Regions from separate parts of the Homo sapiens genome. Here region 1 is linked to region 2. Evidence: promoter capture Hi-C in human tissues and cell types (Jung and others, 2019). All regions are on one chromosome and are shown on one strand. The core of a region is centred on a gene start or on the middle of the fragment in contact, and the rest is flanking DNA. Distances in the headings are between cores, read along the strand shown. Region 1 holds the start of ITGB2 (integrin subunit beta 2). Region 2 holds the start of KRTAP10-1 (keratin associated protein 10-1).

What was found. Contacts are between HindIII fragments. The study calls those that stand out against the background at their distance.
Region 1: a contact is called between the fragment with the promoter of ITGB2 here and the fragment with the promoter of KRTAP10-1 in region 2, in 3 of the 25 tissues and cell types used here (dorsolateral prefrontal cortex, lymphoblastoid cells and mesendoderm cells).

The regions. Positions count from the first base shown.
Region 1 is chr21:44,919,077-44,925,533 of GRCh38, reverse strand. ITGB2 (integrin subunit beta 2) reads left to right here and starts at 4,635. Exons shown (of 16, transcript NM_000211.5): 1 at 4,635-4,713. ITGB2-AS1 (ITGB2 antisense RNA 1) reads right to left here and starts at 4,499. Exons shown (of 3, transcript NR_038316.1): 1 at 4,207-4,499. RefSeq lists a silencer at 5,985-6,044. The HindIII fragment of the contact is 46,650 bases long and covers 1-6,457 here.
Region 2 is chr21:44,536,253-44,542,424 of GRCh38, reverse strand. It overlaps KRTAP10-1 (keratin associated protein 10-1), which reads left to right and starts at 2,230. Exons shown (of 1, transcript NM_198691.3): 1 at 2,230-3,444. The coding sequence starts at 2,275. The coding sequence ends at 3,123. All of the region lies in intron 2 of TSPEAR (thrombospondin type laminin G domain and EAR repeats), which reads left to right. RefSeq lists enhancers at 2,828-3,492, 3,846-4,345. The HindIII fragment of the contact is 21,448 bases long and covers 1-6,172 here.

The DNA.
Region 1 (6,457 bases), core at 3,386-5,885, 380 kb before region 2:
TTGTGGGCTGTGGTTCTCATGTGAGTTCAGTTTTTATTTTTTCTTTTCTTTTTCCTTCCTTCCTTCCTTCCTTCCTTCCTTCCTTCCTTCCTTCCTTCCTTCCTTCCTTCCCTCCCTCCCTCCCTTCCTTCTTCCTTTCTTTCTTTCTGACAGGATCTTACTCTGTCACCCAGGCTGGAGTGCAGTGGTGTGATCTTGGCTCACCATAGCCTTGGCAACGTAGCGAGACCTAGTCTCTATTAAAAAAAGAAAGAAAGAAACAACAGCAACAAAAAGAAAATTTACGGAATTGTGCAATCATCACCACAATCTAATTTCAGAGCATTTCCACCCCCTGAAAGATCCTTCTGCTCATTTGCAGTCACTTCCTCCTAGCTCCTTTAAAAAAAAAAAAAAGATATAAACTATTTTAAGAATACAGAACAGCATGGAGAGCACTAGTACCAATCCCCAAACAGCTACCTCTCATCTTACCAAATCTTAACATGTTGCCTGACTTGCCCAGAACTTTTTCTTCCTTTTTAGTAAAGAAAACTCTACAATAGAACTTTGAAGCCCTCTGCTTCCATCTCCCAGGCCCGTAGCCTTCTCTGTCTTCAGGGGTAACCACTGTCCTGCTCTAGGGGTGTGTGGGTCTGCAGGGACGAGGTGCATGTTATTCTTCAATGCCTCCTTCTACATTTTGCTTTTCAGAAGAATCTCAGTGTTACGGATCTGTGGGTCACGAGGCTTCAGAGCAGCACTTCAAGGGCTCTTATTCATTACCCCGTAGCGTGAGTGTGGCACCATGGATGTATGTGATCTAGGCTATATTTGGGTCCACTTTTCAGGAGTGCTGTTTTTTTTCTTTCATGCCATCCTTTGGACAGCATCTAATTTCATTCAATTGTGTCCGTGAATTTGGCCTCCTTATGGTCTTTGTGCTTTAGAATATGTGGTTATTTCCCTTGTGGTCTAGTAATTATGTGTTTATCATTGTCCCACTTTGTAACATAATTGTGTTTAAGTTGGAGACGAATGGTTACGTTCCTCAAATTCTCTACCTGCCAAATTTGCATTTCTATTTGATTTTTTCTTGTTTGTTTGTTGTTGTTTTTGTTTTTGAGTAAGAGTTTCCTTCTCATCACCCAGGCTGGAATGCAGTGGCACAATCTCGGCTCACTGCAACCTCTGCCTCCTAGGTTTGAGTGATTCTCCTGCCTCAGCCTCCCAAGTAGCTGGGATTACAGGCATGCGCCACCATGCCCAGCTAATTTTTGTATTTTTAGTAGAGACAGGGTTTTGCCATGTTGGCCAGGCTGGTCTTGAACTCCTAACCTCAGGTGATCCGCTCACATCAGCCTCCCAAAGTGCTGGGATTGCAGGTGTGAGCCACCGCGACTGGCCTGATGTGTTTATTTCTGAGAGAGATCTGTTAGAGATATTTGCTGTTTGGGGCTGTGTCAGTTTGCTTATATATTTGTCAGTCTTTGTTTTATATATTTTGAAGTTCGGCACACAAAGGATTATGGCTGCTGAACTGTCTGTGGATTCTGACTCTCATTGGCTACATCTTCCTTTGTCCATTTGATGCATTTTGCTTTGATTTCTATCTTTTTGATGTTACACGATATCTTCGTTAGTATTTTCTAGCACATACGTGTATTTTCCGTTTCTTTATTTTCAGCCTTCAGTGTTCTCTTTTAACAGTTTATCTGATAGAGAGCCTTTCTTACACTTTTTACTTTTTAATTGTGATAAAATATACATAACATAAATTCACCATTTTAACCATTTGAAGTTATGCATTTCCGTGGCATTAAGGACACTTAGTACTGTGCAACCATCACCACCAACTTCTCCAAAACCATTTCATCTTGCAAAACGGGAACTTTATACCCGCGAAATAATAACTTTACACTTCCTTGAAATGTTTTTTTAATCTTACTACAAAAAATTTCACACATCTACAGAAGTAGAGAGAATAGATTAGTGAAGCCCCATGTCCCCAACAGTGGCTTCAAAAATAATCAACTCACAGGTGATCTTGTTGTATCAACACCTCTCCCGACTCTCCCCCAACCCAACCCACCCCTCTTTATTGGGAAATAAATCTGAAACATTATACTGCACCATCTGCAAATATTTCAACATGTAACTCTAAAAGATGGGGACTTTTTAACATAACCACAAACCATTGTCACACTTAAAACAATTAACAATGATTTTAAAATATGGTCCATGCATTGCAATTGGTTCTATTAAGAGATTAAATCTCTTAATCTAAAGGGTCTCTCTCCCTTCGTCTCTCCTCTTGTACTGTGCTGTTTGCCTTGTGAGGGTTTCTTCAGCCTGGATTTTGCTAATTGCATCCCTACGATGTCATCTAACACACCCTCCTGATGCTTCTTTGTAGATCTAAAAAGTTCGACCTGATTCAGGCTCAATAGTAACATTTGTTCTTTCTATTTTTCTTGATTTCTATTGTTATTTCATCAAGACTAATTCATTAAAGGTGTGTGCATAACGTCTGCTGCGTCCGTGACGTTCGCAGCGAGGGTCATTGCTTACTTTAAGTCATCAGCGGGTGTAGTAGAATGGTATTCTCTTTCTGTCCTTCTTCATTATTTTCTAGGCTAAGTCTGTAATGAGAAGATACCCTTGACAGAGAACATTTCATTGGAACTTGTTTTGTCTCTTTATTTCTAAAACCCAACGCAAGACCTTGTTGATTTAAAACAAGAAAATGTAACCCATTCACAGGTGCTGTGATTCCTGATGGGTTTGAAATTATTCCCAATGTTTTATTGTTTGGTTTTTATTTACCTTTCTTGTTTGTTCTATTTTCCCTTACTTTTTTCTTTTAAAGGATTTGCCTTTTTTTTTTTTTTTTTTTCTCAGTTACCCAGACTGGAGTGCAGTGGTGTAAGCATGGTTCACCGTAGCCTCAACCTCTTGGGCTCAAGCAATTCTCCCACCTCAGCCTCCCAAGTAGCCTGGACCATATCGCGTGCTACCATGCCTGGCGAATTCTTAGAAAATTTTTTTGTAGAGATGAGGGTCTGGGTCTCCAAATGTTGCCTAGGCTGGTCTCGAACTCCTGGGCTCAAGTGATCCTCCCACCTCGGCCTCCCAAAGTGCTGGGATTACAAGTTTGAGCCACCATGCCCAAAATAAAGATTTGTCATATTTTTTTTCAGGTATATACATGCTATTTTTATTCTTAAGGAGACTCTTGAATTGTTAGCATATATACTTAGATATTTTCTATCAAAATGCCCACTGACAAGCATCTATATTCCTCCCCAGATAGGATGGAACGGCAATGTGCTCCCTGGCCCCTCCCAACCCAGTCCTCTAGGCGTTTTGTTTCACAGCGTTAATATTCTTACCACTATTTTTTAAATCAACAGGTTATGACATCATAATTTTTACTTATTTCTTTGCCCAACTTTGTATCATCTGCTCTTGTATTTCTCATGGATTTCTTCATGTCTATTTCTGCAAGACATCTTTAAAACAGAGTTTAGGAGCCGGGAGCCATGGCTCACGCCAGTAATCCCAGCACTTTGGAAGGCAGAGGTGGATGGATCACTTGAAGCCAGGAGTTCAAGACCAGCCTGGTCAACATAGTGAAACCCTGTCTCTACTAAGAATACAAAAATTACCCAGGCGTGGTGGTACATGTGCCTGTAATCCCAGCTACTTGGGAGGCTGAGGCAGGAGAATTGCTTGAACCCGGGAGGCAGAGGTTGCAGTGAGCTGAGATCACGCCACTGCACTCCAGCCTGGGTGACAAAAGCAAAACTCTGTCTCAAAAAAAACTGAAAACATAAAAATAAATAAATAAATAAAACAGAGTTTAGGGTAGTAATGTGTCTGAGTCCTTGCTCTGAAGATGTCTGATTTGGGTTTTTTTTCTAGGTATAATCTCTTTCCCTCCTCTTCCTCCTCCTCCTCCTCTCCCTTCTCTCTCTCTCTGAGCCTGTAGTATTTTCCCTTTCGTGTTCTGTGGTATCCTCCTAATGTCCCTAGTTAACAGGACCTCATCCATCCATCCCTGGGGTGTTCAGTGGCCTCGCAATCCACGTCCCCGCCCAGATCCGCAGCCTTCCTCCTGTGACCTGAGTGTCTCCTCCTCGCTGTCCCTGTTCTGTCCCCTCCCGCCCTCACATGCAGGTGGATGTCAATGCGTGCACGCACCCAGGTTTTCTTGCCTGTTCCCACCTCTTTATCCTCCTTGGCTGGTTCCTCCGCTCCATTCTCTGGCTCAGGAATTTGCTCCCCAGGGTTTTTCATTCCGCTCTGTAGCAGAATGTGCTACTGTTGCTTTCCAGCATCAAACTTTTCACTCCCATGGCCTCTGTGTTCTTCTTCCTAATGGGTGCCCTTTCTGCCTGGCGCTCCTGGAGGCCGGGCCCCTCTCCCAAGTGTGAATCTGATGGAAGCAGGTCCTTCTCGCCGGGACCTCATGTGAGAAATGACATGTCCCACCTGTCTCAAGGGGCCGCTCTCTGACATCAGAGCTGCTGTAGAGCGGAGAGGGGCAGGGGTGAAGGGCCACGGTGGTGCAACCCACCACTTCCTCCAAGGAGGAGCTGAGAGGAACAGGAAGTGTCAGGACTTTACGACCCGCGCCTCCAGCTGAGGTTTCTAGACGTGACCCAGGGCAGACTGGTAGCAAAGCCCCCACGCCCAGCCAGGAGCACCGCCGAGGACTCCAGCACACCGAGGGTGAGTGTGCAGAGGCCCCGCTATGTCCACGGTGATTTTTGGAGGGAAGCACTCTCCTGCCCCAGCCTGGAGTGACCCTGGTGGCCCTGCTTATAGCCCCGGCCCAGGGGTGTCTGGCAGGAAGGGGTCTCCAGACCGTCTGCTCCAGGGTCCCCTTTGAGACCCGGCAAGGGGAAGTGCCTGCCACCAAGAGCAGAGCCACATGGTGTGCTGGGAGCGCTTGCGGCTGAGGATGGGGCCGGCATGGGAGGACAAGGGGCTGTGAGGCCGGCAAGGCCAGGAAGAGGCTGGGCCCACAAGCCCCTAGGGGGACGGCTGGGGGGTCCTGGTGCTCCGGGCTGGGCAGGAGGCAGGTTCCCGGGGCCTCCTCTGTGAACCTGCTGCGCCTGCCTGTGTTAGGCCCTCCTGTCTGCATGCTGCCCCGCCTGGCTACAGCGATTCCATCTCCAGATCGACTCGCAGTGTGTGGTGTGTGATATGGTGTGGTGTGGTTCGTGGTGTGTAGTGTCGTGTGTGTAGTGTGGCATGGTGTGCATGTATGGTGCACGTGTGTGGCATAGCGTAGTGTGGTGTGTGTGTGTGCATGTATGGTGTGCGAGTGTGCGCATGTGATGTGGGGAGTCTGTTGTATGTACATGTATGGTGCACATGTGTAATGTAGTGTGGTGTGGTGTGGCACATGCTCCATGCTCCTCTGGGACCCTCGAGCTTCCCTGCCTCCTCCGTGGGGACCCCTGGGTGACGTCTTGCTGTAGGGGAGCGGGCACCGCTGTGCGATTCTGGTCGAGTTGGTTCAGCTGGTGACCCTGGCCTCCCCACAACAGGCTCCTGGAGGCCATTCCCAAGGTCCTGGTGGGAGGGGGATTGAAGCCACGCCCCTGGGTCCCAGGCCCACCTGGCCCCCTTCCCCCAACACTGCACTCTTGGGGCCAGCCCTCCCCATGCATCCTCCACCCCTGGCACCACCCCTTGCACCACCGTCCCCACACCCAATCCCCCCTCCCCTGGATCTGGGAGCTGGGATTCTGCCCTGCTGTCCCTGTCCATCCGGGGCCCCTCTCCTCTGTCAGTTCCTGGGTGGGGAGAAGGAGGGGTGGCATGGCTGCAATGGGGAAGGGGGGGGATGGCCGGAGAGCTCAGCCTGGGAGCGAGCTGTGGGGGCATAGGGGACACTCGCTGTCACTCGCCTTCCCCGTGACGGTGGCGCAACGCCTGCGGGTTTGGGGGCTGAGGCCGGATTCTGGAGGCTTCACAGAAATGAGCTGCTAGAAGCTCTGGGCTGTCTGCCGTCACCCCAGCGTTTCACCATGAGTGAAGCCCAGCTCACTGCAGAATCCATGCCCAGCTCACTGCAGAATCCCCGGGGGCCAGCACTTTACCAAGAGTGGCCTCCAGACTCCACATTTTAGGAAGGAACTCCTTCCCCATCCAGCTCACAGCAGAATCCCCAGGGTCCCTGCCAGCCTGGCACCCAGCGTGCCCCTCAGTATTCTGGGGATGAGTGGGGGAGTCCCTCTGCTGGGAAGAGGTCCCTGGCTACGTCCCTGCAGGGCGGCGGCTGAGCCCATGCCTCGGCCCCAGGGCCAGTCCCCGCCGGGTGCCATCCTGAGCAGGGCCACAGAACAGATGTCCCACATGGCCAGGACCCCTGTGGCCACCTGACCCCGGGGGGGCTGTGGCCCTCGGTGAAGCAGGTGACCGGGCGGGCTGTGGGGTTTGTCAGCTCCGCAGCGTCACTGCCGCT
Region 2 (6,172 bases), core at 981-3,480:
GGTTAAAGTTCTTGTCCATTACATCTTCAAATATTTTACTACCCCTATTTCACTCCTCTCCTTGTAGGATTTCAATCATTTTTCCCATAAATTTTCACAAAATATAGGCATGTTTATTGCTCCACTTTCTTTATTTCCCTCTTTTCTTTCCCATCTCTGTATTCAGGCTTGAAATTTCCTCATCTCCCTTCCTTTACTAATCTTCTCTTTGGTTTTGTCTATATGTTGTAAAGCTAAGCTACCTAGTTCTTAATTTCAGCTATTGTGTTCTTCGTTTCCAGAATTTTTGTTTGATTCCATTTAATAAATCCAGTTTGACACTGAAATTCTCCATTTGTTCTCTATTTTCTTGAGCAAGTTAATCAGCATTAAATTCCAGTTTCACAATTCTAATATCTAGATCTCCTGCACGTCTGTTTCTCTTGTTTGTTTTTTTCCTCTTGGTCTTTTGGTCAGTTGGTCTTGTCTTCTAATATCCCTAGTAATTTTTTGACTGCATGAAGGACTTTATGAAAATTTATAAGATGATTTGAGCCTCTGTTGATGCTGCTGTCTCCAGAAGAGATCACTTTTGTTTCTGGGAGGCAGTTAGGCTACAGGCAGATCATATGAGTTCAGTGCGAGTTTATTTAAAGATAGGTTTCATTCTTTCTGGTTTTTCCTTCCTCCTAGGGAGTAGCCCTTCACTTACATTCAGCATTTCCAACTGAAAGCCTAGGGTGTTTTTGCTAGAATCCCTCCACCTTGTCAGGTCCTGAACTCTGTGGTTTTTTTCTTCTAATTCCATGAGACTACTAAAAGCTCTGCTCAGCTGATCAGGCTCTCGGCCTCTTGGCTGTGGTCTGTAAATTGGTAAATGCCTCAGTAAGAAAATCCACAAGGAATATTGGACTCACTTCTGTGCAGTTTCTCTCTAATGCGGATTCACTCACTCAAGTCTCAGCTGTCTTGATACCTCCCGGCCCCTTCGAACAGAGATTTTGTTTGTAAACCAGATTTCCTAATATTTCTCAGCTAGATGGCCAGTCTGATGTAAGCCAGTTCCCCACACACGAAAGGAGAACTTGACAGAGCATTTTATACAGCATAAGAAAAAGGTGGCACAATGGAATCGCGTTCAGAGCTCAAAATTACTCTTCAATAATTTCTCCAAAAAAGTTTATTATTTCAGCCCATTTTTATAAAGGCTTTTCCTTGGGCCAGGCATGATTTTAGGCCTTTGAAGACTGAGTGGTGAACAAGACAAACACACTCCCTGCTCACATGCAGCTTACGTTTGAAGAAAGGAAGCTGAGGACAGCAAGGACAATGAACAGGAACAGGGAAGACACGTGGTGCAGAAATACTGATGATGGCCAGGCACCGGGCTCACGCCTGCAATCCCAGTACTTTGGCCAAGGCAGGAGGGATCACTTGAGACGCCATCTGTACAAAAAAAAAAAAAAATAAATTTAAGAATATTGATAACGGGACTTGAGTTATCTATGGTTGAAGCACATCATAAAGCTATGGCCTTTAAGAGCAGAACCAAATCCATGGGCCAGTTCAAAACTTTTCTTTCCTGTCCGAAACCCAGTCCTATCCCCAGCGTTCCCACACCAACGTCTGAGTGGACCTCGGGGAAGGCCGTGGGGAGGGGCATGGCCTCTCCTTCCTTGCTCCCCTTCTCCCTGTTTGGGGCTCTAATTTCTTCAGTGATGGGGATGGGGGAAGGAATGTGCAGGGCCACCACTGTGGGGTTCGCTGGCCACTGCTGCACCTTCTCTCCGGCTGCTCCAGTGATCCTGTGCTTCTACCAGCTGCTTCTGCCTCTTCAGTGAGGACCCGCTTTAGGGAGGAGACGCCCCCACGATCGTGAGTGGGACAGCTCTCACCCTGGCATGCCACACTTTGCATAAGGCTGAAGGGCCACCCCTGCCTCCGCAGCCCCCTTCTTACAACCCGGACTGCACTGGTGGCGTGCTGGGACCAGGTCCACCTCCACTCTTGCCCCCAGGGATCCACATGGGACAGGCTACAGCCCAGACAGGACAGGAGATTTATGACCTGGGCCACATCACAGGCAAACAAACATCCCTAGTCATGACACACGCCACCTCTCAGCAACCAGGAAGGGGACGCTGTGGGCCCTGGAACAACAAGGCCAGAAGGGGTATAAAAGCAGAGCCCCACGAAGCTCACACACTCACTCACACACTCAGTCACTCACACACACACTGACTCCCACACTCACTCACTCACACCTCCCGCAGCTCACCTCCTCCCCACCCCAGCATGGCCGCGTCCACCATGTCCGTCTGCTCCAGCGCTTGCTCCGACTCCTGGCAGGTGGATGCCTGCCCAGAGAGCTGCTGTGAGCCCCACTGCTGCGCCCTCAGCTGCTGCGCCCCGGCCCCCTGCCTGACCCTGGTCTGCACCCCAGTGAGCCGTGTGTCCAGCCCCTGCTGCCAGGCAGCCTGTGAGCCCAGCCCCTGCCAATCAGGCTGCACCAGCTCCTGCACGCCCTCGTGCTGCCAGCAGTCTAGCTGCCAGCCGGCTTGCTGCACCTCCTCCCCCTGCCAGCAGGCCTGCTGCGTGCCCGTCTGCTGCAAGCCTGTGTGCTGCCTGCCCACCTGCTCTAAGGATTCCTCTTCATGCTGCCAGCAGTCTAGCTGCCAGCCAACTTGCTGTGCCTCTTCCTCCAGCCAGCAGTCCTGCTGTGTGCCTGTTTGCTGCAAGCCTGTGTGCTATGTGCCCACCTGCTCTGAGGATTCCTCTTCATGCTGCCAGCAGTCTAGCTGCCATCCAGCTTGCTGCACCTCCTCCCCCTGCCAGCAGGCCTGCTGCGTGCCCGTCCGTTGCAAGCCTGTCTGCTGCAAGCCCATCTGCTGTGTGCCCGTCTGCTCTGGGGCTTCCACTTCATGCTGCCAGCAGTCTAGCTGCCAGCCGGCTTGCTGCACCACCTCCTGCTGCAGACCCTCCTCCTCCGTGTCCCTCCTCTGCCGCCCTGTATGCCGGCCCGCCTGCTGTATGCCTGTCTCCTCCTGCTGTGCCCCTGCCTCCTCCTGCCAGGCCAGCTGCTGCCGCCCGGCCTCCTGCGTGTCCCTCCTCTGCCGCCCCGCGTGCTCCCGCCCGGCCTGCTGAGGCCTCTGCTCAGGCCAGGAGTCCAGCTGCTGATGGGCACCCGCCCTGGGCCAGCTGGGCTCAGTTCCTGACCTGGGTTAGGTGGCTTCCCCCACCTAGGACGGGTCCCCGTGTCTCCCCTGTGCTGAGGTGACCCCCCCTCCTTGCTCCCAGGAGCCTCCATCCTTGCAGCTCCCCAGCTCTTGCCTTCCAGCAGGTGCCCACCTGCCTGCTAGGTCCCCTGTCCTCCCTCCCAGCTTCTCTGCTCTGGGTCACTTGGCCTCGACTTGAACCTCTCAGCACCTCCTCCTGCTCCCCAATAAACTCTCCTTGGTCACCTGATTCTCTTTTCTGTTGTGTTCCTGGGGGACACATGGTTTTGAGCTGACATTGGTCTCCTCCAGCCATGATTATTTTTAGGAATGAGTGACTTAACCTAGAAGTCACAGGGGACAGTGGCCTAACTCCTCCAGGGGGTCACCAGGTGGGACTCACGGTCACTCCCAGGAAGGCTCAGTCCCAGCTCAGCCCCTGTGCCCGGGTCTTCCTGAGCCTGGTCATTCGCTGTCATGCCCTGGGCTGTGGGGCTCTCCAGGCCCCAGGACTGTCCCACCCACTCTCTCACCTGGGAGAGCCCACACTGCAGGGTCACCTTCCGGGAAGCTGCCCTGGGGTCCGGGCACTGCAGCCTCCAGGCCTGGTCACCCTCCCTGTGTGCCGCCCGCCCGAGGGTTCTGCCCGTTTTAGCAGCAATGCGAGGGGAGAGGGAGGGGCTGCTGCACCTGCGCAGGAGACAAGGGACTCGATGGGAACAAAAGCATCATGGGGTGGGCGGATGGAGGCACAGGATTCCCCAAAACCCTGGCGCTGCCCAGGTTCTCCTCTTGGGGGGGGGGGGGGCAGCAGTTTCCACACAGGTGTAGGGACAAGGAGCCTGGGTTCCCACAGATGATGCCGGTGCGGGCACACAGTCAGCGACACTCTCATCTCTCTAAGGCTTGGTCCACGCGGGGAGCATGAGCTGCCTGTGATGTCCTGTGGGAAAGGCCGTCAGCGGGGACAATGGTAAGATCAGGCAGCGCATGGGGCTCCGCCACCCTGGGTGGGTGCAGAGCAGTCAGTCCTCAGACTGTGAGACAAACTCCTCCAGGCCAGCTGCAGAGACCAAAACGCTGATGAGAATGCCCGCCCCTGGGATGCTGCAGTCACCCCACAGCCAGGCCGGCCGCAGCCTGATGGACATGGTGCTGCCACGGCTGTGGTCAGAACAGGCACAGAAATGCCACAGAAAGTGAGGTGGAGCCTGGGGGGCGGGGTCTGCGTGGTTGCTGCCCAGGGCCCTCAGTGGCTGGGGGACCCCGCGTGACCCCGGCTCAGCCTGATCTGCTCTCAGCTCCCTGCCCTCCGCACTGACGGCTGCTGGGAACCCACTATGGCCTAAATGCATGGCCGTCCACACTGAAAGTTTCCTGTTCACATTCCTAGCCCATTTCTTATCAGGCTATGTGTGTTTTTCTTGTGGATTTAGGGCTGGGGATCCTCTGTCCATCATATGCCCTCCAAATATTTCCAACCCATCATTGCTTCTATACAGCACACTCCCCGAGATTGGAAACAGGCCTAATTTTGCTGATATTGGTTTCATTGTTATTGCTTAGATTTAACTTTTTGCCCCATTTGCTGATATGACTTGTGTGAGGTATGACGTATTAATCTTTCTCTTCCACCAATAGCCAACTGTCCTTTTTTAAAGTTAGTTTATTCTCTCCATCTCCCATTTGAAACATCTCTTTTGTCTGAGAAATGTTTGTATAGCCTGCTTCTGAAATCCCTATTTTGTATTTTGTTCTATTCATCTCTTGATCTATCCTTGCATCCATTCCAGCTGTTTTATCCATGTTATTCAGCTTCATAATATATCCTAACAGCTCATAAAGAAGGTGCCACTATCTTATTTTCTAAAAACGTTGGTTCTAGCTTGTTCTCAATTAATTTTAGAAAGCTTTTCCAGTATTTTTTAAACTGCTATAATTTTGATTGGGATTGCATTGAGCTTTTAAATATGTAGGAGGAAACTAACAGCTCCTAAGGAAGGTGCCACTATCTTATTTTCTAAAAACGTTGGTTCTAGCTTGTTCTCGATTAATTTTAGAAAGCTTTTCCAGTATTTTTTAAACTACTATAATTTTGATTGGGATTGCATTGAGCTTTTAAATATGTAGGAGGAAACTATAATTGTTCATCTTGTCTTGCCTTGCAGTTACACAGTACAATAGTTCCATTTAGAATTCCATCATTTTCTTCTATAGGTCTAAAATATTCCTCTTTGGATTAAATTCGAGGTATTTCATAGGGATGTTTTACTAGTGTGAATGGGGAACAGTTTTCTATTATGTTGTCTTAGTATATAAATCCTGTATATATGTCTATATAAATTTTTTACATATATATTGTCTTCATATCAAACCATATGTTTAGCTCCTTTCCTTTGCAAGTTCTCTTATTAGTTCTTACAGTTTGTCATTGATTTTCTTGGATTTTTCTATGTAGATGAGCTCATCATTTGAAAATAAGGAGAATTTAACTTCTCATTTCCAATCTTTAAAACTCCCATTTCTATTGTTTTTCCTGTGGCAACATTACTTTGAACACCCAGGATGATGCTGAATAAAATTAAAAGAATCCTTGATTGTTCCTGACTTTCATGAGAAAGCGTCAAAGGTTCACCACTACACGCAGTGTTTGCTGTGGGGTTTAAGTAGAAACCTTTTATTTTTAAACCAAGTCTTTCTATTTCCTTTTTGCTATGAATTTTCATTTACTAGAATCAAGGATTGTTTTGAGAGGGAGGAGTGGATCCTAGAGACATGGTGCTACCTGAGGCATAGTTTCTAAATCTCCCTAAATCCCAAATAGAAACAGAGAGAATTACCAGATAGAAAAAGAAAAACCCATGGGTTCCATTTAGGACAGAACTTAATGGCAAGATATCACCCAAGGGCCCAAAATGCGAGTGGGTAGGAACCAGGCCCAGAAGTCAGTGTTGCTGAGGTCTGTGCCGGAGGACGCC